Regions from separate parts of the Homo sapiens genome. Here all the other regions are linked to region 5. The links are contacts of gene promoters, found by promoter capture Hi-C in human tissues and cell types (Jung and others, 2019). All regions are on one chromosome and are shown on one strand. The core of a region is centred on a gene start or on the middle of the fragment in contact, and the rest is flanking DNA. Distances in the headings are between cores, read along the strand shown.

The links. The method cuts DNA at HindIII sites, captures the fragments that hold promoters and counts their contacts. A contact is called where the count stands out against the background at its distance.
Region 1: a fragment that was not itself captured here is called in contact with the fragment with the promoter of GRIA1 in region 5 in 1 of the 25 tissues and cell types used here (hippocampus).
Region 2: a contact is called between a fragment that was not itself captured here and the fragment with the promoter of GRIA1 in region 5, in 1 of the 25 tissues and cell types used here (dorsolateral prefrontal cortex).
Region 3: a fragment that was not itself captured here is called in contact with the fragment with the promoter of GRIA1 in region 5 in 1 of the 25 tissues and cell types used here (mesenchymal stem cells).
Region 4: a contact is called between a fragment that was not itself captured here and the fragment with the promoter of GRIA1 in region 5, in 1 of the 25 tissues and cell types used here (mesenchymal stem cells).

The regions. Positions count from the first base shown.
Region 1 is chr5:153,761,651-153,767,697 of GRCh38, reverse strand. GRIA1 (glutamate ionotropic receptor AMPA type subunit 1) reads right to left here. Exons shown (of 16, transcript NM_000827.4): 12 at 3,066-3,264. Among named protein-coding and RNA genes, the nearest start is that of LINC01861, 130 kb to the left of the region's middle. The HindIII fragment of the contact is 4,664 bases long and covers 46-4,709 here.
Region 2 is chr5:153,165,845-153,171,864 of GRCh38, reverse strand. No RefSeq gene overlaps it. Among named protein-coding and RNA genes, the nearest start is that of LINC01470, 200 kb to the right of the region's middle. The HindIII fragment of the contact is 5,193 bases long and covers 1-4,941 here.
Region 3 is chr5:153,890,025-153,896,108 of GRCh38, reverse strand. LINC01861 (long intergenic non-protein coding RNA 1861) reads left to right here. Exons shown (of 4, transcript NR_146729.1): 3 at 324-568. Among named protein-coding and RNA genes, the nearest start is that of LINC01861, 5.9 kb to the left of the region's middle. The HindIII fragment of the contact is 5,127 bases long and covers 1-4,115 here.
Region 4 is chr5:153,916,432-153,922,618 of GRCh38, reverse strand. No RefSeq gene overlaps it. Among named protein-coding and RNA genes, the nearest start is that of LINC01861, 21 kb to the right of the region's middle. The HindIII fragment of the contact is 4,095 bases long and covers 1,666-5,760 here.
Region 5 is chr5:153,488,675-153,494,694 of GRCh38, reverse strand. It overlaps GRIA1 (glutamate ionotropic receptor AMPA type subunit 1), which reads right to left and starts at 4,025. Exons shown (of 16, transcript NM_000827.4): 1 at 3,725-4,025; 2 at 630-767. The coding sequence starts at 3,806. The HindIII fragment of the contact is 6,455 bases long and covers 1,044-6,020 here.

The sequences.
Region 1 (6,047 bases), core at 1,128-3,627, 270 kb before region 5:
GGGACAAGAAGCCAGCTTTTTCAGAGACTGGAGTAGAAGAATTCTTGTCTCACTATTCCCTCCTTTTGCCTTGTGGGGGTGGTAGGTAACCTTATCTCCCCACCCACCAAACTCCTGGTGGGATAATTATCCAAGGTCAGAGTCACAGAGATGGAAAGGCTTATGCATGGGACATATCTTGGCAGTACTCTCCTTTTACAGGTAAAGAAACTGAGGCCCATGATGTGGCAATAAACTGTCAAATGTCATGCAGTTTGTTAGTGGCAGAGCCAAGAGTCCCTGACCTCCTGATTGCACACATTGTGCCTTTCCACTGCAACCAGCTGCCTCCCTCATTTTAGGCTTTATATCTTATTAGCTGAAAGACGTTGGGCAAGTAGCATAACCTTTCTGAGCTTCAGTGTTCCTCTTCTGAAAATAGTAATAATACTGTGCACTTCACAGTGTTGCCGTGGAGATTATATGAGAACACAGGCATAACCCAGTGCCTGGCACAAGAAGGCATTCTGTAAGTAGTGCAATGACTACTAATAATTATGCCTTTTTTTTCAGGTTTTACTTTAGGGTAGGAATGCCTCATACCTGGCTTTCTTGGTACCAGTTTCCCTTCCTGTATACATGAGAGACACTGATATCAATCAAAGAATCCTTTCACATCAAGCCCAGATGTGACCTCAGAATCTCTAGGCAACCACTACTGACCTGTCAAAGTAAGTACATGGACTACAACCAATTTGTCACCAATGTAGTAGGCCTGGGCACAGAACTTGTAGAATATGCACTGCCCTGGTTCCAGGTTCTTAACTTTGTGCTGTGGACAAGAGGCAGTAATATGTCAACTGACGTAGTGATTAACAAAGACTTTTGAAATTTTAAATCCCAGCTGTGCCTCTCATTAGGTAGGGCATGACCATTTTCTTCTCTGGGCCTCAGTTTTCCCAACTATAAAATGGTACAGTTAGACTAGATGTGTCCACAAGCCCAGCTGTCATCCTGAGTGATCTTTTTAAAAATGTTTGTCAGTTTAATGACACCACCACATTAAGACCATGTGGTTCAGTGACAGGAATACTTGGATTGGAACAAGAAAACTCAGATTTGGTACCCACCCCTGACACTTGCATCAAAAGAATTTCCCAAGTTTTAATTTCTTATCCGCAAAGTGGCTGCCACAAATACCTCTTCTGCCTGAGGTCACAGGTGAAACAAAAATGAAACCATAGGTGCAAAAGTACTTTGAGGACTGGTGCATGTTGTCTATGCTATAAGGATGAGAGCATTGTTAAGTGAATTAGATGGTTCCCTAACTGCATTAGCAGGGGTTGGGGCATAGGACAGGCTTTATGGACAAGTAGAAACAGGCACCTTCTTCACACTTTTGTTGCAGGCTAAAAATGTCAGGGAATTGTAATGAGATTGTAAGTGGCTTTTTTATTAACTGGCTGGGTGAGCTTAAGCAAGTAATGCCTCTCTCTAAAATGACAGCCTCTGACTAGGTGACCTCTAAGGCACCTTCCTGCTCTGACACATTGAAAATTGATGATTTTAGCCTTGGAGTTAGGATCAATGATGCTTAAGGCTTTGTTCCCTTTCCTGTCTGTCATACAGAATACAAAGCCCATGGTCAAGAACCTGCAGCATCTCCCACAGTGGTTTGTTCGGGGCCTGGAGTTTGCTCCAAGAAGTTGTAGTGAGATAACTAGGTGAGTCTGTACAGGATCCCTTCTCTTTTGCCTGAGGCAATATGGCAGCGTGCTGTCTCTGCTCCTTCTGCTACTAATTAGCTGTGTGATCTTAGGTGATTCTTTTAATTTTCTGATCTATAAAATGGGGACCTATCCTAACTCTGAGCTATAAAATAGGGACAATCTCTAACTCATCTTTAATGAGAGGATTAAATGAGATAATTTGTGTAGGGTGTGCTTAGCACAGGACCTGGTTCATATGTAGGCGGTAGCAAATGTTTCTTATTATTCTTATTTGATCCATAGATGGTAGTTCCATGTACTGTTTCTTCAACTCCTGGGATAAACATCCCTAAAGTCCAGGGAAACCACAGGTTTTCCTGCTTCTCGGTGTCTGTCCAAGTTGTTCCTTTTGTCTAGGTTGTACTTAGCCTACTCAGGTCTGGCCTGGCTTTGTGATATCTATAAATGTTTACAGGTCTACCCTGGCTTTGTGATATCTATAAATGTTTACACGTCTACCCTGTATGGCTTTAGTCTCTACCCATTCTTCAGAATGACTCCCAAAGGTTTGCATTTCCTTGAAGTCCTAATGGTATATGGAACCTCCACTGATTGTTCCTTGTTTTGCCTCTAATTTTAGATACCCTATCTCTTTTAGTCTTGTTAAGCTCTGATATAGACATTGTTCTCCTCATTACATGGATGAATGGAAATGGTGTCACAGAGGCTAAGTGTACAGAACAAGTAAGGGATGGAGCCAGGTTCTGGGCCTCCATCTGCTGAACTTGAAGGCTGTGCTCCTAAGCTCTCTGCTCCTTTGCTTCCGCTCACTGTCTTCTGCCAAAACACATCTCACCACCTCCACTCCCACTTCACATTTTCTCTCTCTCCTGGCACCATTTAATAGATCACCTTTTCCAGTTTTTTTTTTCCCATATACTATCCTCTTATTCATCAAGTCAACAAACATTCACTGAGCTCCTTCTATGAGATAGGAGGGGACACAAAGAGCATCAGGTCCAGCTGTTGTCCGTAAGCTGTTCCTAATTGATTACTAACTAGACTATAAGGTTTCCGTGATAACAGAGAGGAAATTGTATTTGATGTCTTTTGCAGCCCTCAGAGCATTAGCACAGACTGATACAGGCAAGGGATCCAAATCAATGCAGGAGCTTTGAAGCTTCTACAAATGTAGAAATGTAGATTTCTCAGGGGGGTGGTAGAAAGCTTAGAAATGTCCTGAGTTTCCCTGACTTACAGTCAGTTAAGCACTTGCTCTGGCTGCCTGTTATCTCAGGCTATATAATGAGAAGGACATTTTAATGACAGTTGTGGTTCCCTTTTGTGAAAGTGTCTTGGGACAAAGGATGTCCCTACCCTGAAGAACTCCTTAGTAGATCCTGCTTCCAGCGTCCCGTAGGCAATTTCTGTCTGCTTCGCTAGGTCCTCTGCACTCTCAATGGGAGACACCATCCTCTCCACGGTCAGGAAGGCGGCCAGATTGGCTGTATATGAGGAGATGATGATTAAGGTGAAGAACCACCAGACGCCACCAACGATGCGACCAGACAGGGACCTGCAGGCCAAAGGGAAGAGGCATCAGCAGCATGGACATCAACTGTGGAAAGCTCTGGGGAGGGACTGAGCACGGGTCCGGGGCTTGGCAGCAGAGCGGTCAGGCCCTATTGCACCCTTCTCATCTGTCAGCAAGATGTGAGAATTCAAATGTTGTTAGAGAGACTCCATATTTTGTTCCTTATTACGGACATGGATCTGTGGGGTTGCTGTCCTTCAGGGGTGATAAAGCCCACATGCACGTATTCACACTCCCTTTTACACATATATAACAGCAAGACACATGATGACAAAGACACAGATATGTCAACACTTGCCCACAAAAATCACAAATATGTATAAGCAATTACATACACAGCAAATGTTTTGTGCAAACATGTATGAATGCAAATGCATTTATACACATGATGCAAACATTTGATTGGTTTAGACATGTTTTCAGACTGCCTTATTATTGCTCTCCTGGCTGGCAAAGGCCACCAAAATAGTGGACTAGAAGGAAAGGAAGGAAGAATACATTGGAAATAGAATCAGAATAGTCATAGTCCAACCATTGTGGGGAATGCCACCATTGTGTGCAGACACAATTCTTTCCCCCACTCACCCAAGGAAGATAATTTGGTTGAAATAAAAAAGATAAAAAAAGGCAAATATGATAATCAATTATGAGGTGAGAAATTTATCTTTGAACTTTTCAGATTGCTATTCCCCTCTCTTATCTCCCAAACAATGAAGAGAAACATAACCAGCCGAGAGTTCCACTGTTATCTCTCTGATCTGATAGGATACTTCCAAGTCCAGGGCTTCCCAAGATATTACAAGATGATTTGCATGTGACTTGTGGTGATTTTATGTGGTAAGCAGTTAGGGCATCATATCATAATGAATCCTATGGTGGTAAAGTTATTTGCATTTCATTTCTCTTTCCATCCTGTTCAATTTATCAAGGAAGTGTTATTCTGGAGCCCCTGTACCTTTAAGCCCGTTCTGACAAGTGCTCTGACAGCCTCAAGCTCAGAGCCTTCAATAGGTGACAGTGTTTAATTGAAACCCTATATTTAACAATCAGAGAAATCACCAATGCAACCCATGAGTTTTACCAAGAAACCCAAGAGTCTACTGTGCCTCGGGACAGCAGTACGCGGGCCTGTTGGCTGCTCTGTTGTTCCACACTGCTTGCAAAACCCTTATCTGTGTTGACCTTATATGTGTTATTCCTACATCCCTTGACACTTCACTTTACCTTGATTTCTTGGAGATCCCTTTTCACTCTAGGCAGACAGGGTTTACTCCAAGAAATCCAACAAATATATGTCATTGCTTGCTATGTGGAAAAGAATGCTCCTAGGCGTTTCACACGGAGGGGAAAATAAAAGAGAGGAACACTTGTTGGAATGGATGAGACCAGGAGAGCGGAGCAAAGCTATGTCGCATGAGGAGCAGTTGCAGGAACAAGGAACATTTAACCTGATGAAGAGACTTGAAGAGACATGTTCACTGAAGAGTTGGCATGAGGCTTGTACTATGTGACCTGATTTAGGAGAACTTTGTAGAAGTTTCAGGAAAACAAATACTACTTAAATATGAGGAAGATATTTTTGATAGGTAGGGTGTGCAACATTGAGATGGCTATCCTGAGAGTGAGAGTGTTTCTCCATTTCTGAAGGTGTTCAAGTAGTGAACCATTTACAGAGATATACTTGGTGGTGACTCTTGGTCCCCCAGGACACCAAGTGCTGGGAATGCAACTCTAAGGAGGACAGAGAAGGGGTCAAGGTTCACATGGGGTTAGGGACCAGTTGCTTCCTTTTACACTTTTCCATTTATGAGATTGTGTGATTTAAAATCATAAGTAGGTAGACCAGGATATACGAATTCCATTAAGCAGTCAAGCAAGATAGTTACAAAGGGGCAAAATCACTCCCCCAGTGCCCCAGAACCAGTGCACAACAGGTCTGAAAATCATACCAGTCTTCACATAGAACTATCCCAGTGCTCTTTTCATCTTAGTAGGTGGCAGATACAAGTGTTGAGGTCATTTGAAGCTGCAGCAGCTTTCCCAACTCTGGATGACCACAATGGCCTCTAAACTGTACCTCTTTCCTTTTTAAAATTTTATTTTGTTTTCAACTGACACATAAAAATTGTAGATATTTATGGGGTGGAGTGTGATGTTTTGATATATGTATACATTATATAATGATCAATTCAGAGTAATTAGCATGTACATCACCTCAAACATTTATCATTTATTTGTGGTGAGAACATTCAAAATATTATCTTTGAGCTATTTTGAAATATACATTATTGTTAAATATAGTCACCCTACCGTGCAATAGAACACAAGAACTTATTCCTTCCATCTAACTGTGCCTTTGCACCTGTTCACAAATCTCTTCCCATCACCCCTCCCCCTCACTTCCCCAGCCTCTGGAACCACTGTTTTACTCTGCACTGCTAGGAGATCAATTTTTTTAGATTCCACATGTAAGTGAGATCATGTGGTATTTGTCTTTATGTGCTTGGCTTATTTCACTTAACATAATGTATTCTAGGTCCATCCATGTTGTTGCAAATGACAGGATTTCATTCTTTTTTATGGCTGAATACTATTTCATTGAGTACATACCACTTTTTTAAAAATCTATTCATCTGTTGATGGGCACGTAAGTTGATTCCATATTTTGGTTACTGTGAATAGTGCTGCAATAAACATGAAAGTGCCAGATATCTCTTTGATGTACTGATTTAATTTCCTTTGTATATTTACTCAATGGTGAGATT
Region 2 (6,020 bases), core at 1,096-3,595, 320 kb after region 5:
ATCATATGGTTTATTTGTTTATTTATTTTCTCACCACCTGATGTTCAAGTCTTAAAACCATTCTTTCGTATGTATTTTGTTTATTTGTTTCCTTGTATTCTTGTATTTGGTAGTTTCATGCAGGTGACTGCATATAGCTCCTCTTGCTTCATCTTGGTAAGATATAGAAGTCTGAATTTAGTTTTTAAAAGTGATATCCAGTGAAAAGTTTTTGAGTGGTCCTGCCCTAATGCAGGTGAATGCATGAATGGACCTGCTCAAGTCTGTCTTCCTCTATGAGCTCTGAGTCCTGTTTTCTACCTCTGGGAAGCTCTTCTGATGGGGAAAGAAAGAGAAAGAGAGAGAGAGAGATTTTCCCAACTATTTTGGGTTTCCTCTTGGGGTCCTATCATTTGCACTTTCTGAATCTTATCAGGCCATAACCACAGTTCTCTCTTGAGAAACATTTTCTAAATATTGTCACTGTCCTTCAGACTGCAAGTCTTCACAAGCTGCCATTGCCATTATTACCTTTGTCTGATTCAGTGTCATGGAAACATGAGTCTTAGACAAATCATCAATACAGTGTTTAAAAAGGCTAGCATCTGATAAATAATTCCCCACCTCCCTCACCCACACACATTTTTATGAAGACAACATTGTTTCTGCAGTTTCCTGACACAAATGATAGTACTGCAAAAATTATACTTAAGCAAGTGGTGAAGATAGAGCCAGAGTTTCACCTCCCCTTGTGCTTCATTTTAAGTTTGTTTTTTCTAGTCTAATGTGTTCAGGATCAATATATGGTACAGGCTTGGACAATTACATCTTGATGGAAATATTGAATGGGCTTTTGTGGGTGGGGGCAAAATTTGATTCTCAAAGCCAGGGTATTACCCATGAAAGTCCATGGTGTTTTTTACAGTGGTGGCTACCTGCCGTTCTTTCTCTCTTTCTTTTTGATCTACTGTCTACCCAGCCCAGGCCTCAGCTTTATGGGAACCCATTCTAGCATATTGGCTCCTTGACTCTGCAATGAGTCTGTTTATTGCTCACTCAGCTTTCAATTGTGAGATATGAGATTCAAGCTACAAAGATCTAATCCAACCCTCTATTTAGAGATGGGGAAGCAGAGGTTTAGGAAGTGGAAGGAACTTGCCTATGTCCCACCACAAGGTTATAACTAAAGGAGAGATAGAACACAACATGCCCCACTCCTAACAAAGTTAAATATCATAGTCACCAAGCCAAGCTCTCTAGAAAATATCAAAGAGGATATTACCTAATAGGTAATACCCGCATTCCTTCATAGTCTTTTTCAGAGGGTTATAGCATGTGGAAGCAATTCTCTGGATGACCTCATTACCAGGAAAGTTAATCCGGCCACCAATTCAACACTTTTTTTTTCAGTTTCCCTGCTTAGACTTTTTCGTTAAGACTCTTCGATTCAATAATTAGTAATTACTGTAAGCTGGGCCTGGTGGCTCACACCTGTAATCCTAGCATTTTAGGAGGCTGAGGCAGGAGCATCACTTGAAACTAGAGGTTTGAGATGAACAGGTGCAAGAGAGTGAGACCTCCTTATCTCTACCAAAACTGTAAAAATTAGATGATCATGGAAATGCACGGCTGTAGTCTGAGCAACTCAGAAGGCTGAGAGGAGAAGATCACTTGAGCCCAGGAGTTCAAGGTTGCAGTGAGCTATGATCATGCCACTGTACTGTAGCCTGGGTGGCAGAGTGAGACCCTGTCTTTAAAAATAAATAATAAGTATTGTATATGCACTAGCAGGAGGACAACAATAACCTTCCCATACTAATATAGGACTATATGCTTTTAAAAGCACAAGTGCTTTTCGTTTCCTCATTTGATTCTATAATGAAGACTGGTCATTTGGGAGCTATGCAGCACCAAACACCAAGTCCCTCTTTCTAATTGCATCCCTCTTTCTAATTTCTAATTGCAGGGTGTGTGTGTGTGTGTGTGTGTGTGTGTGTGTGTGTGTGTGTGTGTGTGTGTGTGTGTTGGGTGGGGGCGTGGTGGGTATAAGAAGTTACTTTTTGCCTGTCGTGTGATGTCTTGGTGACTATACATGAAGTTACTCTGCCTTTCTAGTGCAGAGACCAAAATGTCACAGGAGATTTATCACTTCAGATCCTTCCTTTTGATGCCTTTGCACAGCCAAAGTCATGTGACTCAAGCTTTTCCAATCAGAATCTATTCTAAGACTATAAATCTTGAACATGGTGTCACCCAGCATGAGGACAAGTTTAGAAGTCACTCATTAGGGTTGCAATAAATATAAAATTTATGTTTTGACAGATTGCGTCATGATCAGATGTGACACATGTATCATTAAAAAATAAGATTTTACTTTTCTTCAAGTACATGGGTCCCGTGATACATAAGATAGTGGTGAACAATATTTAACAGCTATCATCTGCATGGTGCATTTCTACTCCTGGTTTTTTTCGTTAAGTGGACACAAATGTCAGAAGATTGCTTGAAATTGAGCTCCCCCAAATCTGAAGTATACATGCAAAAGTGAAAGTCCCCCTAGCCTGATTGATGATAGATCTTATCGAATTAAATGGTATCTAACTCAATAGTACAGTCAGCACACTGTATCTGGAACATATTAAATTTATTGACACCCTTGGTTGATGTTCTTTGTGGGTTTATAGTCCTGATATTGCCTTCTCATGACCCTCTGCTACATCAGCACTATTTCCAAGTGAGAGAGTCAAGTAGTGTCTGCTTATATAGAACATTATTGTTCCTACCAGTTTCTAATTCTGCAAGTTACCTGATAACCTTCTAATAAAGACCCTTCTGTTGCTTAAGCTAGCTAAAACAGCTTTCTGTTACTTACGACCAAAGAATTGTAAGTGATACATGTCTTCATGCTACCTATAGAAGTTAGTCAAGGCTGAAATTAATATGTGCATTTACTATTTGATAAAATTGAAGCTTAGAGAGATTCACTTAGTGTTCAAAGATTACACAATGAGTGAGCAACAAAGTTGAAATTGTAATTTATCTCTTGACATCTAAGTCTAGGCATTATCTATACAGATTTAAGTATTATGTAATTTTTTAAAGTAAGGATTTGATAGATGAACACTGATTGTTTTAGTTTAGGATGTCACAGAAGCTTGCCCTGAGACAAGGAATTAAGCACATGTGGTTTATTTAGAACATAATTCCGGGAAACAACTGAGGCAAAGAAGCGAAAACAGACCAAGGATGCACTATTAGACAAGTTATCACTGTGCATCTCTGGAGCTTAATTGCCTGAAGAATTCTAAAAGCCAGTGTTATGAACCGACTTGTATCCCACCAAAATTCAGATGTGGAAGCCTAAATTCCAATGTGACTATATTTGAAGACAGGGCCTTTACAGAGGTAATTAACATTAAATGAGATCATAAGGGTGGGCTGCAATCCAATCTGACTCATGTCTTTACAGAAAGAGGAAATTTGGACACACATGAGAAATACCAGGGATATGCCTACACAGATAAAAGTCCATGTAAGGACACAGCAAGAAGGAGGACACCTGCAAGCCAAGGAGAGAGGAGTGTGGTCTCTGGAGAAATTTAACCTGCCAACACCTTGATCTTGGACTTCTAGTCTCCAGAACTGTGAGAAAATAATTTCTGTTGTTTAAGCCACCCAGTGTGCAGTATTTTGTTATGGCAGCCCTAACACATTAATGCTGCCAGTGTAGAACATGCACTACCTGAGAAAAGATGGTATCCCACTGGTTCTCAAAGTGCTGTATTTGGACCAGCAGGATCGGCATTGCTTGGAAACTTACTAGAAATGCAAATTCTCAAGCCCACCCCAGAGCTACTAAATTAGAAGCTCTGGGGGTGGAACCAGCAGTGGTGATTTAACAAGGCCTCTTCAGGTGATTTTGATGCTCGCTCAAATTTGAGAACAACTTGCCCATCAATTCTTGTCAATGATTGGTTGAGGGATGCTGCTGAAGACATTAATCCCCTGCATGTCTAACTTGCCAGGTCGGTAAGCAGAGTGGGCTCCAAAGGCAGGAGAAAGTTGCAGCAAAAGAGATGCACACTCACATTTGGAAGACAAGCTGGTAAGCAATGAAATGATAAAGCCCTAAGGGATACAGGTGAGGTAGCACCTGCTAAACTAACCATGATGACAACGATGATGATGATAATGTACAAGAATTTATCATGTAGTACTTGTAGTTGGCAGCACTACTCTTCAACTCCTTTATGGTCCTCCGTTTGTATTGAAATTTCCAAGTGACTAAAGTTTGTCTCTCCAAGTATGTGGTAATATCGTTGAGTATAGCAGGACAAGAGAGGGAAACCTGTGACTGTCTATTATGTATCAGAGATTGTAATCAGAATCTTATTATTTTTTTTCGAGATGGAGTCTTGCTCTGTTGCCCAGACTGGAGTGCAATGGCATGATCTCGGCCCACTGTAACTTCTGCCTCCTGGGTTCAAGTGATTCTCCTACCTCAGCCTCCGGAGTAGCTGGGCTTATAGGCACGCACCACCACGCCCCGCTAATTTTTTTATACTTTTAGTGGAGACAGGGTTTCACCATGTTGGCCAGGCTGGTCTCGAACTCCTGACCTTGTGGTCCACCTGCCTCGGCCTCCCAAAGTGCTCGGTTACAGGTGTGAGCCACTGCGCCTGGCCTGCAATCAGAATCTTAAATGTGCTCAATCTTTACAATAATCCTGGAAAGTAAACACCATTATCCTAATTTTACAGTTCAGAGGGTTGAGATAAAAAGGAAGTGGCCCTAGAAGGGTAAGTGGCAACACTAAGATCTGAAATTGCATATATCTGACTACAAAATCTATACCCTATCCACTATCTGAACCTTTAGGAATTCATAGTAATTTCTCAAGTGCAATATATTAAGATGTTCTGAGAATGTCTAGAAGAATCAAAATCTTAGCCTTCATTTGGAAACTTCACTTAATTAACACGAGTATTAGGGGAGGGAGCTGAGACTTACAAAGTAACTGTTTTGACCACTCAGATTTTCTCAAAAGGCCAATAAAAGGGGGGAGGGTGCTATTACAAATGGTGGTTCCTAGGAGATTCCTAGTCTTCCCTAATAAACTCTTCTTGATACAGCTTTTTTAAGGAGCCTAGGCAACAGGCCAACACTCTTAGCTGTGGTCTTGTATTTCTCACCTGTTGAGTTTAATTGTGTACATAATATGCCTTTAATAAGAAAAGCTGGGGCAAGTCTGTTTCCTGCCCTAGCAATGTGGGGAGTCCGTATAAATATTCTAGTGCAGAAAGAGTGCCTAGAATAACAAATAAACAGTCATTGATAGAAAGCTATGGAAGGTAGGGAACTATAAGATTTTTGAGTGAAGACAGCTCCTCCAGTGTCATCCAGTCTAAACTCACTCAAGGGTGAAATCCTCTCCAGAATAGATGTTGGGCAAAAACCTGCTTGGAACTCCAAGTGCATGAACATGAGATAGCCCATTTCAATAGGAAAGTAATGGGAAAACAAAATAAAAATCACATTTTTAAAGAGATTTATGACCTAAATGTGGCCTTCAAAAATGTGAATAAAGAATGGCTTTTCTTCATACTAGAGTACATACAGTGACATTAAACTACATCTTCCATATTTCTTCAGGTTAGTAGTAGGGGAAATCCTAAAGCAGGTGAAATTATTATCTAGGTCCCCATCCCTTCACATTTTGACTTTGCCTCTATTGTGGGAAATCAAGACATTAGACAGTCAGAACTCACATGTTCACTCCTCATTAATTGTGGAGATACTGGCCACACTCCACACTGTTGGCTAGAAGATCTTCAATCATTGCTAAGTAAAGCACTTCTTGCCACATCTTTTTTTCCTGGGGCACTTACCTTGTGAAAAGCAGCTCAGTGGCAAATAAAGCCCTGAAATTTGGGCCTCTGGTTTTATGATGAGTTGGATTCTTATTTAAAATTATGGTGTGTTTTCTTTGTGGTATCTTAATGGGTATGGATTACCTCTAAGAGTAAGAGTCACTTGGCTTC
Region 3 (6,084 bases), core at 303-2,802, 400 kb before region 5:
TTCCTAGCACTTGCCAAATGATTTTGTGCCTTAGACAAAGGCCAAAAATCCATCCTGACATGGTCCTGGCAGCTCACACCTGTTCCTCTTTTGGCAGTTTGGAAAGTGGGCTGCTATATGTCATCCCCTCTAATCTCTGCCCCAAACTGAGTTGTGCTATCACCCTTATGTTACCTTTGAGGAATCCACAGCTCAGGCAAATTCATAGCATGCCCAGGATCACACAGAAGAACCACGATCAAACGTGGGTCTTCTAACTTCAAAAGCTGGGTCCAGTCTGCAACATGACATGCTGTATCTCCCACTCTATGTGAATGATTCAGGAAGGTGGATGATAAGAGACAGCAGCCGGCAGAAGGAAAGCAGTGATCTGAACACCTAACGGGAATCCTAAACAGTGGAGAAAGGAGAGCAAACATTAAAAACTCATGGATAGAAAAAAAGAGGAAAAGAAAACCATTTGGAAGTGTTCATTGAGTTGATGCACTGGATAATTTAATAAGCTGTCTGTTCTGATCCGTCTTGCTTCCCTGCTTTTAGCAGGGTGCCATATGAAAGCTCCTACATGGTAATTATAGTGGATGATCTTTTCCCCTGTCTGGGATCTTTATGGTGTGATTTGGATAGCTCAGCTGCTAAGCTGTTTTTCTTGGGAGGCAGAGTGTGGGGCATGTGTGAAAATATGTGTGAGAGCTTGTGTGTGTGTTGCGGGGGTAAGGGACAGTGGCTGGGATTGGCCCTTAGAATCTCTTTTCCATTGTGGCAACATTTTTTTCTGCTGCTTCTTGGGATCTTGGTGCCAGGGTAACTTTCCTGCCTTCTACCTGATCACATCTTTCTCGGACTATGGCCTCAGGACTCAAATCCCTGCCAAATGTCAATAAATTCATCAGATTAATGAATCCTTTCCTAGCTAATATGGTTCTCAGTTAATTAATCAACAAATAATTATTAAAAGCTTGTAAATGCCAGGCCCTGAGAATGTCCATGCTCTCATGAACATAGGTTTTAGTGGAGGAGATTGTGGGAAGCAAGAACACAAGTAAGTATGAATTCCAGACACTGATAAGTGATAAGAATAATATGATGGCATGTTTTTTTGTTTGGGTGATCAGGGGACTAAGTGATGTCTAAGGGCCCTGAAATCCAATCTGGACCTAAATCTAATCTAACCTGCCTCTAATCTGATCTAAAGGAAGGAGAAAGAAAGGAAATCTTGTCAAAGAACTCACTTAGGAGAACTCTTTTCCAATTTGGCTTCCTGTGTATTGATGAGGCAGGCTGTCCTGTTACTTGGCATGCTAACTACCAACTATTTCTTCCTTTGATTTCAAAGATCTCATTTCAGGATAATGATGACCGTGGTGATGACTGTTAATAAACCCAATGTTTAAAATTCTATGGAGAAAAAAATTTAAAACATACAATTGGGAATTGCTCTCAAGAGATTTGCTTTGATCCTTTCAAATGGGGTGCACTAACTAGATATGAGATCTTGAGCAAGTTCCTATCTCTCTGGGCCTAGTTTCACCATCTGTAATATGATGATATTGAGCTAGATCAGTGGTTCTCAAACTGTGGTCCCTGGACCATTAGTGGCAGCAGCACTTGAGTACTTGCTAGACATGCAAATTCTCAGGCCCTACCCCAGACCCACTGAATCAGAAACTAAACCCTGGCAATCTGTGTTTTAAGGGGCCCTCCAGGTGAGTCTAATGCACCAAAAATCTAAACACCACTGAACAAGATGACCCTTAAGGCCTTCCTGATCAGCCTCTGTTTGCTTCTCAGGCCTGTTGGATGAAATTGGCCTGGAGTGGGATCCTCAGAGGGAGGGATGAGAAATGGAGGAAGGTGCCTTTCCTGGTTGCTTCCCTCCCCTTTGAAAATTTCAGTGACTTCTCCTTATCCCTGCTTTCTCTCAGCGTCCTCTGATGATTGGAGCTTATTAAGATGGGGGATTTTCCACAGGCCTGTTTCAGAGGTCCTGGAGAGGAGTTTTAATTGCCAGACTTCACATTGAGGGTGTTAACATTTATTAAAGTCAGCTCCTCTGATTGCCTTTTAGCAAGACGATGACTGTGCATAGGAGATAACACTGGGCCCAGCCGGGTGGGGCCCCAGAGGTAGCTTAAGATAATCAGGCCCAGGGAAAACAGAAAGGCAGCCTGGCATAGTGGTAGCAGAGACACAGCAGCAACTCTCATGCTGTTTGTGCTGGGGTGGCTGGGCCGACGGAGGGGTCTAGGCTGTTGTGGGATCTGGGGTGGTTTCAGTCAACAAGGTGGGCCTGGGGGAGAAGAAGGGAAAGGCTGGTAAGGTCCTGTTCAGGAACAGAAGCACTACAGAGATGGGGCAGAGAGGGCCAAAGCTCTGGCCTCTTTTGTAATGTAGATTTGGGTCTTACCACTTTCATAATTTTGTGAGGAGGGATAGAAGATGGACTATATGCTATTGGGTAGTGGAGGGTGGAAAATGCTCTCAAAGACCTGGTTCTAGTCTGGATTTGCTGCAATTGCTCTTGGCTCCTGGCCCTGTCCTCTGCGGCCTCCTGTGGGCTCACACACCACAAGCTTACTTTTCCCTTCTTTTTCTTTTTAAACATTTCAAAAGCTTTAAGGGTACAAGTGGTTTTTGGTTTCATGGATGAATTGTATGATGGTGAAGCCTAAGATTTTAGTGCACCCATCACCTGAGTAGCGTACCTTGTACCCACTATGTAGTTTTTATCCCTCACCCACTTTCCAAATCCTGGCTTCTGAGACTCCAGTGTCCATTATACCACTCTGTTTGCCTTTGTGTACCCATAGCTTAGCTCTCACTTATAAGTGAAAACGTGCGGTATTTGATTTTCCATTCCTGAGTTATTCACTTAGAATAATAGCCGCTAGCTCCAGATTGCTGCAAAGGATATTAATTCATTCTTCTGTATGGCCGAATAGTATTCCATGGTGTGTATATACCATATTTTCTTTTTTATTTCTTTCTGTTTTTTGAGACAAGGCCTTGCTCTGTCACCCAGGCTGGAGTGCAGTGGTGCAATCTCAGCTCACTGCAACCTCTGCCTCTTGGGCCCAAGAGATCCTCCCACCTCAGCCTCCTGAGTAGCTGGGACTACAGGTGCATGGCACCACATGCGGCTAATTTTTTTTTTTTGTATTTTTGGTAGAGATGGGGGTCTCACCATGTTGCCCAGGCTGGTCTTGAACTCCTGAGATCAAGCAATCTGCCCGCCTCAACCTCCCAAAGTGCTGGGATTGCAGGTGTGAGCCACCGCGGCTGACCTACATTTTCTTTATCTACTCATCAGTTGATGGGCACTTAGGCTGGTTCCATATCTTTGCAACCGTAAATTGTGCTGCAATAAACATATGTGTACTGGTGTCTTTTTGATATGATGACTTCTTTTCCTTTGGATAGATACACGGTAGTGGAATTGCTGGATGGAATGTTAGATCTGCTTTTATTTCTTTGAGAAATCTCTGCACTGTTTTCCAGTTGTACTAGTATACATTTCCACCAGCAGTGTATAAGCATTCCATATTCACCACATCCACGTCTATGCCAACATCTATTGTTTTTTGCCTTTTTAATAATGGCCATTCTGGCTGGAGTGAGGTGGTGTCTCATTGTGGTTTTAATTTGCATTTCCCTAATGATTAGTAATTTTGAGCATCTTTTCATACTTTTTTTTGTCATTTGTATATCTTCTTTTGAGAAATATCTATTCATATCAGTTGCCCACTTTTTAATGGGATGATTTGTTTTTTTCTTTACAGCAGTAATTTTCAAACTGCATTCACCTGGTCTTAAGAACTCAGCCTCGACTTCATCAGATCAAAGATCCAAGGAGTTGAATGGCTCTCATTTCTCTGGGGTCTGTGAGGAGAGGAATGGCCTCTGTTCCTTCCTTCCCTTCACATGTGGCATCTCTCATTTCATCTGGTTTTTGTCACAGAAGTTTGAAAGTATTATCACCAAGAAAAAAGAAAAAAGATACACAATTGGAAAGCACTATGCTCGATTACTTCTTTTTCTGTGATGAACTCTGCCTTCCTTCCCTGCTCCTGCCTACACTTTCTCTCAATTTCCCCCCTTGGTGAAAGGCAGACCCAGCGCAGCAGTTGCCCCTTCTCTCTCTTCTTTGTCTTAGCATCCCACTGTCACTACATGGTTCAGATTCTCCTCACCAGAGGCTCCAGAATCAGTCTCTTCTTTCTTTGCCCTCCCTTATGGTTATAGCTCAGGTCTTTGTTGCTTCTTGCCTGGACTTGCAAGGTAGGCTCAAAACTGGTTGTTCTGTTTCTGGTCCTGCTCCCTCACATCCTTGTAGCCTGCACCCAGAGTGACCTTGCCAAATGTCACTCTGAGCAGGTTATTCCCTGCTCCATGCCTCATTTTTGCCCATCAAGCCAAGCTCCTTGGTTCAGGGGTTCAGACCCTCCATGAGCTGTGCTTTTCAGTCTTATCACTCTCTGCTCAGCCAAGCCAATCTCCTGGTTTACTCAATACCTTTCAAGAGTCAGCTCAGGTGTCACTTTCTCTCTGGTTCCTGTCCCTGACTCCCTGAGCTGAGTAAATTGTTTCATTTGGTAGGCAGATGGCCCTCAAGATTATAATTTTATAACTGTCTTCTCTACAAGCCTGTGAATTCCTCAAGGGTACAGTGAGCATGGACCATTCATCTTTGTACCCATGATATATAGCAGGTACATAATACGGACTCTTTTGAATGCTGCAGGACTGTTCAAAGGACTTCTTTGGTCCCTTCCCACCCTTGTTTTCAAAGTACAGTGGTATTTGCTTGGAGGTGAATGGTCAAAGTATAACTGAGGCTGCTGTGTTGGTGAAATGTAGTGAGCAGCTGGGTGGGCACTGAAGGGCTGAGTCATCATGCGACCCTTCTCCTTAATTGCCTTGGGTTGGTCATTTGGCTTCTCTGGAATTTGGTTCTTCTACCCATGCATTTGACAACTTGACAGCAGTGAGAAATTTGTGTGTCTTTGGCACACAAATATTGAGATACAGTGGCAAGTTCTACCAGCGTGTATCCCACTAATAATAATAAATACTTATCAAATTGTTGAGCATGTACCAGGCACTGAGCAAAGGCTGAGCTCTACCCACTTTGTCTTATCTAATTCTTCTCACAACCCCAGGAAGTAGGTACAATTGCCTCCATTTACTGAAGGCTCAGAAACACGTAAGCTACTTGTGCAAGGTCAGGAAGAGTCGGGATTCAAATCCAGGTGTAGAAGACTCCAAATGACTAACTAGTGGGCTGTCTGTCTTGTGGTCTGAGGAAGGTGAAATATGCCCTTACAATCACTAAAAGTGCTATGCAGCCCCTGGCTAGGAGGGAACTATACCCAGCACTGCTTTCTATAGCAGGCAAATACAGGTACCACATGTTCCCTTCCTGGGCTTCCTAGAACCTCATTATGGGGATGATGAAAATGATGGTGATGATGTAACTGCAGTGAAAATATGCTCAGGAGATAGTTGCCACCACCTACAGGCACTTGCTCACCTCTGCCCTCACTTCATACCACTCTTGTCCTTTTTTATCCTTCTCTGGCCATATGTACCTTCCTGCTGTTCCCTGTACATTTCAAGCTTGTTCCTGCCTCAGAGACTTTGCAGTTGCTATTCCCTCTGCATGAATGCCCTTCCACCTGCTCTTCATGGCTTTTATCACTCACTGCCCAGTTCTAACATCACCTCCTCAGAAAGGTCTTTCCTGATTCCCTGTCTAAAATATTTCCCTCTCTTCCCCAAGTTACATCCTGTCCCATCCCTCTGTTAATTTCTTTTATAGCAGTCTGCATACTTTGTAGTTATTTTCTTCACTTTTTAAAATGTCCTTCCCCTCCTCCCTCAGACAGGAACCCTGAGGGCAGGAGCTTTATCTGTACTATGCACTTCAGTATTCTTACCCAGTGCCTGGCCCATGGTGTTGATAAAACAATTGTTGAGTGAATAACCAAATGAATGAAGGATGACAAATTCTCACATTACTTTTCCTATTCTAGGCTGGACAACACTTGAACTCATCCAATAACCTTAGCCAATTTTCTTAACTTC
Region 4 (6,187 bases), core at 2,464-4,963, 430 kb before region 5:
GAATTTCATCAGTGGCCTTTGGTAAACAAAGTTCCCAGTAGCTGGAGATGTGCAAGATACATCGGCTTGGCTACCACATCTGTTGTTCATTTTCTTCACTTGTTTGTTCATTTGGTATATATTGAGCACCTAATGTGTGTCAGGCACTATTATGAGCACTGGAGATCTAGTTATAAATAAGACAGACAAAGGACCTGTGTTTCCAAAGCTTACATTCTAGTGGTCTGATTAGCAACATTCCAAATTGGCTACCCTGGGTTTTATGTTTGTCTCTTATAGAATTATAAATGATCTACTTTCTTGTTTGTGTATACTCCTTACCCCATATTCTCCACACTCAATTTTACATAGTTTGGTCTTAGGATCAAGACCATAACCAGAGAAATCATGTGGTTGGCTAGTCCTAAAGATTAAGGTTCAGGATTAATCCAGAGGAGCGTCAAAGCCCTCTACCCATCCGTTGGTCCTGCCTGAAAATTCCTCGTTAGCAAGTTATCTCATCACAGTTGGAAAGGATTGAAATTCCTTACCCTAGCATAAAAAGCCTTATTTGATTATACACCTGCTCTCCCCACACCCCCGTCATCTTGTTTGCTTTGTTTACCATGCTGCAACAACTTTGACTTTGTCTCTTTCCCGAACATAACAAGCTCATTCTCCCCTTAGGGAGAAGGACAATGTTTTATCTGTCTGGAATGCTCTTGGTTTGGCTGGTAGATTCTTGTTTCCAGACTCCATCTTAAATATTGCCTTCACAGAGAGACCTTTCCCGACCATCCAATAAAGTAACCACTTTTTATCTTCATGTCACATTATTCTAATTCTTGGCAATTTATCAGAATCTGGTATAGCTTTTCTTTCATTGTCTAGTGTCTTTGTCCACAACTAGAATGTAAGTTCCAAAAACACAGCAGAGCTGTTATCTATCTTTTTTTTTAATTTTTATTTTTAGATGGAGTCTTGCTTTGTCACCAGGTTGGAGTGTAGTGGTGCAATCTTGGCTCACTGCAACCTCTGCCTCCGGGGTTCAAGTGATTCTCCTGCCTCAGGCTCCCAAGTAGCTGGGATTACAGGTGCATGCCACCATGCCCAGCTAATTTTTGTATTTTTAGTAGAGATGGGGTTTCACCATGTTGGCCAGGATGGTCTCAATCTCTTGACCTTGTGAACCACCCACCTCGGCCTCCCAAAGTGCTGGGATTACAGGTGTGAGCCACCGCGCCCAGCCTGTTATCTGTCTTTTTGACCACTATATTTCTAATTTAGAGCCTAAAACAGTTCCATTACCACATAAGGGCATCAGTAATTTCTTCATAAATGAAGGGAAATGGGTGGCTAGAGTTCAATAGCTTCAGGACCACGGGAAGCTCCCACCAAGTTTTGTTTTGTTTTGCCTTTAGCATCCCAAACTTACATGAAAAGTATCAAATTCCTATCTTGTCGAGAGAAGGTGAGACCTTTGGGTGTGCTGGTTGGGTGGGATGATTCAAATATAGCAGCTGCTATATCGTTTTCCTGCTTGGGCTTGTCTTATCACTTATCATTGAACCACACTGAGATTTCCCTTACTAAGTCTAGCCATGTCTTTTGAGAATCCTATCTTAATGTAACTTTTTCTTTCCTATGTCTTGTGCAAAGGTACCTTTCTTTTCTTTAAGAAACCTACTAGTTATTGATGTCACCTGTATGCCAGGAATTGTTGTTAGTGTTAATTCAGAATTGAATAAACAGAGCCCTTGCTCTTGAGGGATTTGCTGTCCCCTAGGGAAGTGTGCTATCAAAGGAAAATGAAAGCCGCTGTGAGGATAGAGAGAATATTATGTGTGAGTAATAATTTCTCAATAGAGAAACATTTGATCTGAGTTTTAAAGAACTGACAGGAGTTTATAAAGTAGAACATATAAAAAAGGCATTCTAGAGAGAAAAGATAAAAAAGAGGCAGGGAAGTGTATGATGGATTCAGGAACAGGGTAGCTAGAATATATGGGGAGGTGGGAAGCAGAAGGAAATCAAGCCGAAGCGGTAAGATAAGGCTAGATTATAAGAGGTCCGCATACCATACAAATGATCTTGGATTTTATTCTGGAATAGTAGACCCCTTTAGAAGGGGGTTTGAGCAGGGGAGAAACAATTTCAGGTTGTTGGTGCTTTAAGAATATTGTGTTGCCAGAGATGAAGGAGGTAATGGACTAAAAAGGCTTTTAAAACAAAACTATCGTTCTATAGTAAGGGTGATTGTTATTCTCGTTGTTTCAAGTAAAACCCCTCTTAGGGGCTGTTCAGTGGGAATACCTATTTGGATCAGTTCAATTAAAAAACAGCCTTGGCCGGGCACAGTAGCTCATGCCTGTAATCCCAGCACTTTGGGAGGCTGAGGCAGGCGGATCACGGGGTCAGATCGAGACCATCCTGGCCAGCATGGTGAAACCCCGTCTCTACTAAAAATACAAAAAATTAGCTGGGCATGGTGACGTGCACATGTAGTCCCAGCTACTCTGGAGGCTGAGGCAGGAGAATCACTTGAACCCGGGAGGCGGAGGTTGCAGTGAGCCGAGATTGTGCCACTGCACTTCAGCCAGGAGACAGAGCAAGATTCCATCTCAAAAAACAAAACAAAACAAAACAACAAAAGACAACAGCCTTTTTCCTCCTGATACAAGTGATACAAGTTTGTAATGGAAAAAAATACAAATGAGCAATAAAAAAATTCACCCCAATCCCATCACTCAGATATAACTACAGTTAGAAATATGTATGTGTGTGTGTGTGTGTATGTTTGTTGCAGTTATTCTGTACGTATATTTTGTACATATTCTGTACATATGCTTTTTGCTTTACAATTTATCATAAACATCATTCTACATCATTTCAATCAATAAATATCTATTTTATTATTTTAATGGCTACTTACTCTACCATTGAATTGATGTACTCTAAAATCTTTAAGGACAATGTGAGTTTGTTGTAAAATTTATTCCTTCTTTGGTAAGAGAAATTCAGTGGAAAATGGGAAAGATCCATGGATTGTAAACGTTGGGCAAGGGAAATATTTTGAGATTTTCAAGGAGAGGATTAACATGGCTGGACACTAGCTCCACACAAAGTTTTAAACTTTGTGAAGCTTTTCAAAAAGCTTGTAGCCTTTTAGAATTGAGATAGGACTGGAGAGTGACCCTTGGGGTTTTCCCTGCATTCAGAGAACTCACATGGCTTAGTTGTTCTTATCTGCTGGCTGCCATGGCAGGGACTTGGCATCTAATGCCGAGCTTTTCTGACTCTGGCAAATATGACCATGGCCAAGAGTGCTTCTAGGCCCTGGGTTTCCAAATCCCCTAGCTATGAGTCTTTAGACCAGAGACTGCCAAGCTTTCTGTACCAGCTTTTGTCTCAGTAAAATATTGTGGAGCACACATCTTAAATGTGTGCATATTTATTTTAAGATTGCATTCAAATTTCACTGTACTAGATATTTGGTACATTATAAAACATACAGCAAACAGACATTTTAAAAGCATAAGAGCTGAAATAAAACATTTAAAAATAAATGTTTTTTGCTCTCAGTTAAATATTATTCACATAGCATGTAAAGTAGTTAAGCAGTATTAATATTTTAGGGAGATCAATGCAGTTGAGCTATGCTTGGTTTAAGACTTAGATATTTACAAATTCTTGTCCAAGTTCAGTTTATTTTTATACTTGCTTTTTAATGAGTATAAAAATAAAAAAGATACTGCACAGAAATATGTTAATCCATTGAGAAGAAAGGTATAATTGGATGTATTTTGTAAATCATAATGTTCATTTTAAAATTCCCTCCACCACTTTTACATACAGGTTTTAGTTGAAATTTGGTTAGTAAATTTCTATCTCATTAGAGGCTAATTAGTTGTTGCTTTCTCTTTAAAACTAGGTTAAAACCACTCAAATTCTTCATTTGGAAGATTTTTAAAATCCAGCTTACAAAGTGAAGTTTTATTCAGAACTCAATCTAGGCAATATACAATGAGAAAACATTCCCAATATCTCTTTTCAAAATGCCTTCTCTTTAGCATGAGGTTTTTTTTTTTTTTTTTTTTTTTTTTGAGACAGAGTCTCTCTCTGTCACCCAGGCTGGAGTGCAGTGGCGTGATCTCGGCTCACTGCAAGCTCCACCTCCCCAGTTCACGCCATTCTCCTGCCTCAGCCTCCTGAGTAGCTGGGACTACAGGTGCCCACTACCATGCCCGGCTAATTTTTTGTATTTTTAGTAGAGACGGGGTTTCACCATGTTAGCCAGGATGGTCTTGATCTCCTGACCTCGTGATCCGCCCGCTTCGGCCTCCCAGAGTGCTGGGATTACAGGCATGAGCCACCGCACCCGGCCTTTTTTTTTTTAAAGCAGCTAATTTTTAAAAATACATTTTGAAAATTTCACATTTACCTTGAAGGGTGAATTGTTTTGGTCATTGTTGAAAATATATATTGGGTAGTATAAACTGACAGCTAGTTGTCATCCCAGAAAATAGCAGATTGGCAAGATTCTAGTTTTTTAGACCTAAAATTTCGTGTTAAAAAAGAATAACTTTGATTTCAACAACTCTTTGGTATTTTCTCATAAAATAATTAGCTAATCTCGGTGTGGCACCAAAAATTTTCATGATTAGTTTCTGCTTCATTGCAGAATGTTATAAACATTCCAGTAAATGGAGCAAGATTGCTGATTAAAAGCAGCTACTGTGGGGCATTCATGGAGAGAAACAGAGGGGCGAATGAATACAGCACCTTCAAGTGAAATATCCAGGTACTCGCATTGGGACTGATCAGGGAAATGATTCAATCCATGGAGAACAAAGAAAAGCAGGGCAGGGTGACAACCCACCCAGGAGAGACAGAGAGCCAAGGGAACCCCCATTCCCAGCCAAGGGGAATGGTGAGTGAATGTGTGACCTTGGGAAACCCCACTTCTTCCATGGATCTTTGCATGGATATTTGCAACCCTAGGATCAGGAGATCCCCTCATGAGCCCACTCCACCAGGGCCTTGGGTCTAACACACAGAACTATGTGGAGTCTCCACAGAGCAGCTGCTTAGGCATGCACAGAGACCCAGGAGCTTTACATATTCCGGCCCGGAATCTCTGATAAAGGTGACTGCAACTCAGGCAAGGTGGGAGGTCTGTACATACCCCTAGGAAAGGGCCTGAAGCTGGGGGCCAAGCAGCCTTGGTCTGTGGGCCCCACTTCCACCAGCACCTCACAAGATAAAACCCATTGGCCTGGAATTCTAGCCAGTCATTGGCAATAGGGTGAGCCTGTGTGAGATGGGATGGATCCCCCAGGGGGAGGGGAGGGCCACCATCTTTGCTGTTTGGACGACTAGGCTATTCCAGCTTGTGGGCCTTGGATAGTCCAGATAGCCCGGATAAGGAAGGAATGCCCCCCTCTACTTCCCGTGCAACACAACTGCTTTACCAAAATGTGGCTAGACTTCTTCTTTAACTGGGACCCTGATCCATTCCTCCTCACTGGGCAGGACCTCCCAGCCAGGGCCTCCAGCCACCCCTGCCTGCTTTGTCCCTGGGACAGAGGGAGTGCCAGGCAGGACAGGTAGGCTGCCACCTTTGTTGTTTGGATGACTCAGCCATTCCAGCCTGCTGGCTTTGAAGAGTCCAAACAGTCCAGACAAGGAGGGGACCCCCTAGCACAGCACAGCTGCTTTGCCAAAATGTGGCCAGACTGCTTCTTTAAGTGGAAGCCTGATCCATTTCTCCTTACTGGGCAGGACCTCCCAGCCAGGGCCTCCAGCTACCTCCAGCTCTGATCTTTCTGGGACGAAGTGTCTAGGGTGAGGGGGCAAGGCGCTACCTTTGTTTTTGGATTACTTGGCTGTTCTAGACTGTGGGCTTTGGAGAGTCTAAGCCAACCAGGGCAGAGGTAGTTTCCCAGCACCGTGAGGCTGTTTTGTCAAGGTGTGGCCAGACCACTTCTTTAAATGGGACTCCATTCCATTCCTCCTTGCTGGGTTTGTCCTCCCAGCCAGGACCTCTAGCCACCCCTACCTGTGTTCTACAGCTGACAGAATTCTAATTTCTCCCTGGGATGGAGTGCCAGGGGAGCGGGGTGGGCTGCTACCTTTGCTATTTGGGTGTCTCAGCTAGTCCAGCCTGTGGGCCTTGGAGAGCCGAAACTGATTGAGGGTGGGGAGGGGG
Region 5 (6,020 bases), core at 2,776-5,275:
CAGATGTCAGAGATTTATCTATCCCTTCTTCTTGAGGCCACCTTTGTTCTGTTTGATGCTCAATGACCATCCTACAAACTGTGCCTTAAACAACCAATTTCCTCAAGCTATTTTTAAAATGACCAAGGCACCAAGTTTTAATTATTGGTCACTTCCGAAAATGAAGAACCAGATGTGTACAACTTCTCAGCTATTATTTCTTATCAAGCTACATTCTGTCCATTTAACATGTAGATAGGAAATGCCTTAAGCACTTTAAACCACATTTTCACAAACTCAGGACCCTTAATTCTATGCCTCTCAGAAGATTCGTATGTGTAAAACTCTCTCAGCTGTGCCAGAAAACCTCTGCAAGGTAGGGAAGATGCAGTCAACCCAAGCACCCATCGTGCTGGCATTAAAGTTAGCTGACAGTGAAAAAGCAAATCCATTACATGAAGCATTGCAGGGGCTAAAATGCCAACTGCTGGAATCACTCAGAAGCCTCTAGAAATTTTTCTTGGAGGGCTTTCTCTTACAAAGACGAATGGCAACTGAAGTCATTTTTGCAACACCACCACCTACCCACAGGCCCTCCTTTCATTGGTCTAGCGCAGAAAGACATCTCAGAAATAGAAGCAATTACTTACATCTATAGGTCATCTCAAAGCTGTCGCTGATGTTCACAATATCAATCTGGGGGAGCAGCTTCGGGGGCTCTGTGAGTTGCGACAAAGCAAATCTAAAAGCAGCATGTTCCTGTGACTGCTGGTTTGGAAATAATCCCCCTATGAGAAAAGAAAATGCAACATGGTATATGGGCTAGAGACAGGTTTTAGTTCCTCACGACTCACTCCAGATGAGTCCTTTTCTTCTCCCCATGCCAAACTCACTAGCTGTAGCCTTGAGTGGTAGAGATGAGAGTTCAAATAGGCTTAACTGGACACTGAAACTTAAACTCCTACAGATGAGCTTTTTTGTGACATGGGCCTCTAATATCTATTACTTTGCTCAAACATTTGATTGTGTACCCCTCAACTCAGCTAAAGTCAGAGAAAACAGGAGACTTGTGCCATTTCTCTTCTTCCTCCCTTGTGCAAACCACCTAGGAGCTGCTATTCTCTTATATAAACATACACATAAGCCCCCTCACCCTCTAGTCATGTCTAATTTTTCTTACATCAGCCTCATCTCTCACCAGAGAGCCTTACGGGAAGTAGGTACTAATCAGTGCTGCAGGGTGATTGAAATCTAGCTCTGGGACCCTGTGGGCTTCTCCACTACTATAACTGTTTACATGGACAGTTTTTAGTCTTTGGCCTAGCAAGACCTGCATGCAATTTAACTATTCTATTGCCCCTAAGGTTTATTATTCATTTTCTCTAAAAACTCTTGCTTTTCTGCAAACAATGTTTTGCTTACTCTTTCACCACACATGATCCCAGTTACCTAGGAATGACTTGTTACATAAGGGATTGCCATTGTGTGTTTGCATGGTGGAACCTTGTGCTTCAAAGATGTGGGATCTTAGGCATCTCAAGAGGATACAAACATTCTATTCTAGTAAAAGGTATAGTAAAGGTGCCTGATGGGATGCCTGTTCCGAGAAACAAGAGTCCATGGCTTACCTTTGTATTTACTGTCAACATGTAAATCAATTACATTTCTGTGAATTAAAATCAGCCATTTCTAGAGACTGAACTATAATGATGTTTACATAGAAGTTTATCTCAAATCTGACAGTAATCACAGTCCAAACATAATGCACTTCTAACTTCTTGTAGAGTGGGTGTCTGTTTTTAAGAACCAATAAATGGATTGCAAGCCTTTTGTTACAGATCACACAAATAGAATCAAGTACTACCTGATGGCAGTGATATTTTCAGCATTTTGTTCTACAATTTAATGCTTCAATCTCTTTTTTTTTTGAAAACAGTAGCAATGGCTTTATCAGTTGAACAACCAAGTTAGGGCTAAATATAATTTTAAAAATATGCAGAGATACATGAGAAAACATAGCACATACATGAAACATCCTCATGCATTTATACCATTTACTATATACACAAATATACTAGACAAACACTTCCAAGCCACAAAGGATAGGTAGTATATAAGCACAAATGTAAACAATGCCACATGTAAGAGCCAGTGATTTCCACATGTACAAGTGCTCCCATTTTAAAGAATGAAAACAAAAAAAATTCTTGATTATGATGCTCCCCCTTCCCCCCAGATGACCACACCCCAAACACTTCCCTGTCCCCTTTCTCCTCCTCTGCAATGAATGAAAGAGAAAGGATGGGAGGTTGAGGAGTAGAAGGCTACGGGCTGGGCTACAAGGGAAGTGTCTCCCCTGAAGGCAGGAAGTTTTGCGTGTTAGGCACTAACACACAGATACGTACACACTTCAGGATGTAGCTTAACAGGTGTCAGGAAACAAAGCAAGTTACTCCATGGCCACTCCAAGCCGCCAGCTAGCTGGAGAGGCTGAAAGAGATGGGTACTGCAGCACATGTATGCCCGACAAAATATCAATTGCACCACATCCCCCCTCAAACACACACTCACAAAAGAGCACAAACTCCCAGCAATGCGAACTTTCCCTAGTGGAGCTATCTCCCTACCAGGGGAGAGAGACTAGAAACCAAACCAACGAAGATGCTTCCAAACACAGCAGCTTGCTTCATTCCGGGACACAAACGACACTGACATGCTGGTCACACGGAAGCCCCAAGCCCTTGTGGACATGCTTTGTGATTGGTGTTATTGCTTCTGTTTGTTTTGCTTTCCCTCATGATTATCAGGAGTAGCAATATCTGTCAGTCCCCTCAGAAATACAGGGAGGGTGGCGGGGCCTTTGAGAAGTGTAACAACTAAGAAGGGGAAATGGGGAACAAAAAAAGCATGCAGCATGTTGAAACCTGCCTCCAAGTTGAGAGGATGGAGCCCAGTAACAAGGATAATGGAGAGCCAACAGGAGGAGAAAGGAGCATGTGTACGTGTGTGTGTTTGTGTGTGTAAAAGGTAGACCTCTGTGGATAGGAAATCTAAGAGGAGGGGGCAAGGAAGGAACGGAGAAAAGGCAGGCGAGGAAGTTCCAGGATCGGGGGAGTGGAGACCACCAGCGCAGCATGGCAGACAGCAAAGAGAAGGCAGCTGGAGGAGTCCAGAACAGGAGAGGGAGCCTACCCGCCTTGGAGTGGGGGCCTTCTGGCATTATTTCAGTGGCTGCAATATACCCAGCACCCCTCACTCCTTCTTCTCGAGGGTCTCTTTTCTGTCCCCCAGCAGAGAAAGCACTGCCTCCTTCAATTACATATATATGTGCATATGTAATATATAATCACACACGTGAAAACACACACACCATACATACTTACATTAAAAATGGAATCAAGCACCATCTACCAAGCAATAGAGTTAACTCCTTAAACACCCACCACCCTTTCCAGCCTGATTTTTTTTTTCCTCCAAAGCGATGGTTCCTCCATTTCACATGCTCTTGCCTGGAGTGCGAGTAGGGTATGTGTGCGTGTGTGAACACTTCCCCTCTGCCCCTCATCCGATCAGGAGAAGCCCCCTCCTCTGGCTGTAAGCCCAAGTCTCCCTTCTGTTACCGCAGCACAGCTTTAGGGAGCCAAGCAAAACAGTCAGTACCGGGGAGGGGGTACACAACCCCTATCCCCAAAAAAATCCCTGGCCAGACCCAGAAAGTCCCTCCCCAGGCTGCCCCCTCACTCACCGATCTGGATATTGTTGGGGAAATTGGCACCTACTACCGCGCCTAGGAAACCGGTGCAGAAGAAGGCAAAAATGTGCTGCATATTCCTTTTTGCATTGGCGAAAAAGAAGCCCAGGTCCAATCATAGATTTGGTGTTTCCCCCCCTTTCCCTTTATTCTTCTCGCTGTTCTGCCTGTTCTTTTCCTCCTGCAGTTCCTTCCTTGCTTGCTTGCTTCCTTCCTTTCGTGAGGTTTGTCTGTTTCCCTTGGAATCCGAACACTTAAACTGCAGCGTTAACACCAACTGACAGCCAGATTAACTGAGCACGGGAAAAGAAGCCCGTCCTCATGCTAGCTGGAGCGCTGGCTCCCCCACTCCCTCTCCTCTCCCCTCGCAGCCTGCCTCTCTCTCCCTCCCTTGCTCTCTCTCGCTCTCCCCCTCACACTCACACAGGCAGCAAGCTCTATGCTAATACCCACCGAGCTAGCTTGGAGTTCCACAGCCGACCTCCCTACCTGTTCCCCCTTCCTCCCATCCTCACCTTATCCTCCTTTCTGTGTGTGCAGAAAGGTGGAGGTGGGGGTGTGTGACACGTGGCACTTGGTCCTGAAAGGGGCAACCCCACAGTCCTCTTTACCCTCCCCTGCCTTTCTGAGCTCGGTCTGCCCGCTCCCCCAGCCCCCAGGCTGAAGCTGCTGGGAATGTGGGTTCAGCTGTAAGTCAGTAGGTGGCAGGGGGTCCCCACAATAGTCCTCAATCCACCAGCTGCTTGATCTAGGTCACTTTTTCTAGGAGTGCATGGGCTGCGCTGGATATATCTCCTGCACTCCACTGGCCCAATTATTCCTACAACTAATTCCTGAGGGAAAGACCCTAGAAATCCCTCCTAGGAAATTTAAAGGAAAAAAAAAAAAAAGCTTTCTCTCTCCTAATGGAAGGAATGACAGATAGACAAACAAGGGAGGATCTGGAGTGACTGGCAGGTATTTTGACCAGGTATTTGACAGTCCCTGTCTACCTTTACAAGTGAAACGGTGGTCTCTTTTCAATCCTAGGCATTTAAAATGGGCCCCCTTCTCTCTTTCCCTGCATTCCACAGGAGTCTATAGCATCAGAATCGTGTGGGTGTACAATAAAGACTAAGGATACTTACACAGAGCAATTACATGAGTCATTTTGCAGGGATTCTAGTGAGAGGATTCAAGCTTCTTTCAGGTCTTTCTGGATGCTGGTCATGTCTGGTGTAAGCTGGAACTTCATAGACTCTCCTAGACCAGGGCTTCTGCTGAAATAACCTGTAGAGAGATCAGCTGTGTTCAGGATAGTAGTGTTAAATGCAAAGCAGCAGCCACTAGCCGCCACAGAATACAGTTTTTGAAGGAACTTTACAGATTTTTATCCATCTATCTTCACTCCAAACCTGTAAAGTGGCCATGAGCCCTGTTTTACAGATGAAAAAGATAAGACTTCTGGGATTAAGTCATAAAGACACAGACCTACTAAGATGTACAGTACAACCTACAAACTTGAGTGCTTTGGCCGTTACCAGTTGACTTACTGCCCTGGCCAGGACTCCTGTCCAACAGGAGATGATCCAGGAAAAGGAAAGTCAACTTTGTCTTTAGTAAGAAAGAAATAATAGACTTTGGACTCCATTTTGCTTTGCCATATGAATAGGCCATTTTATCCACAGACTCTTCACTTCCCTCACCAGGACTGTATATCATGTGGACTTGAGTGACAGCTACAAGGACTGGGATTTGTAAAAAATATCTGACCATGTACAATGAAGCCCCAAAATAGGAACAACTTGGAGGTCAAATGCTTTGTGATTTCCTATGCACTTTCACATATATTAATTAATTAGCTAAAATAATTTTTAAGGCTAATGTTTATTCACTATTTTGAATGTGCCAGGTACCATGCTAAGAAATGCACCTGCATCATTTATTTGTACAATACCTGTGTAGGTAGCCTCATGCCCATTTTATAGATGAAGAAACAGAGGTCTAAAAACTCACCCCAAGTTTTCACTGCTAATGAAAGAGATTGGGCATTTAAACACAGTAAATGCCACCATCAGGCCCCAGCTCTTAACTCTTAGGCTCTAATAACAGCAAGCACTGGGTAGGAACCTTCTAAAGGAAGAATAAGCATCAGCATAGGAAGATGAGAGAACAGAATCAGGAAAGATCACTTCTAAGGTCTCTGCCAACATTAAGAGTCTCTGATTTAATGATTCCATCTTTTAATTTCTCCATTTTCAGTTTTTGTATCTTACTACTTTGAATAGTACCTGGGGATCTTTTAGGTTCC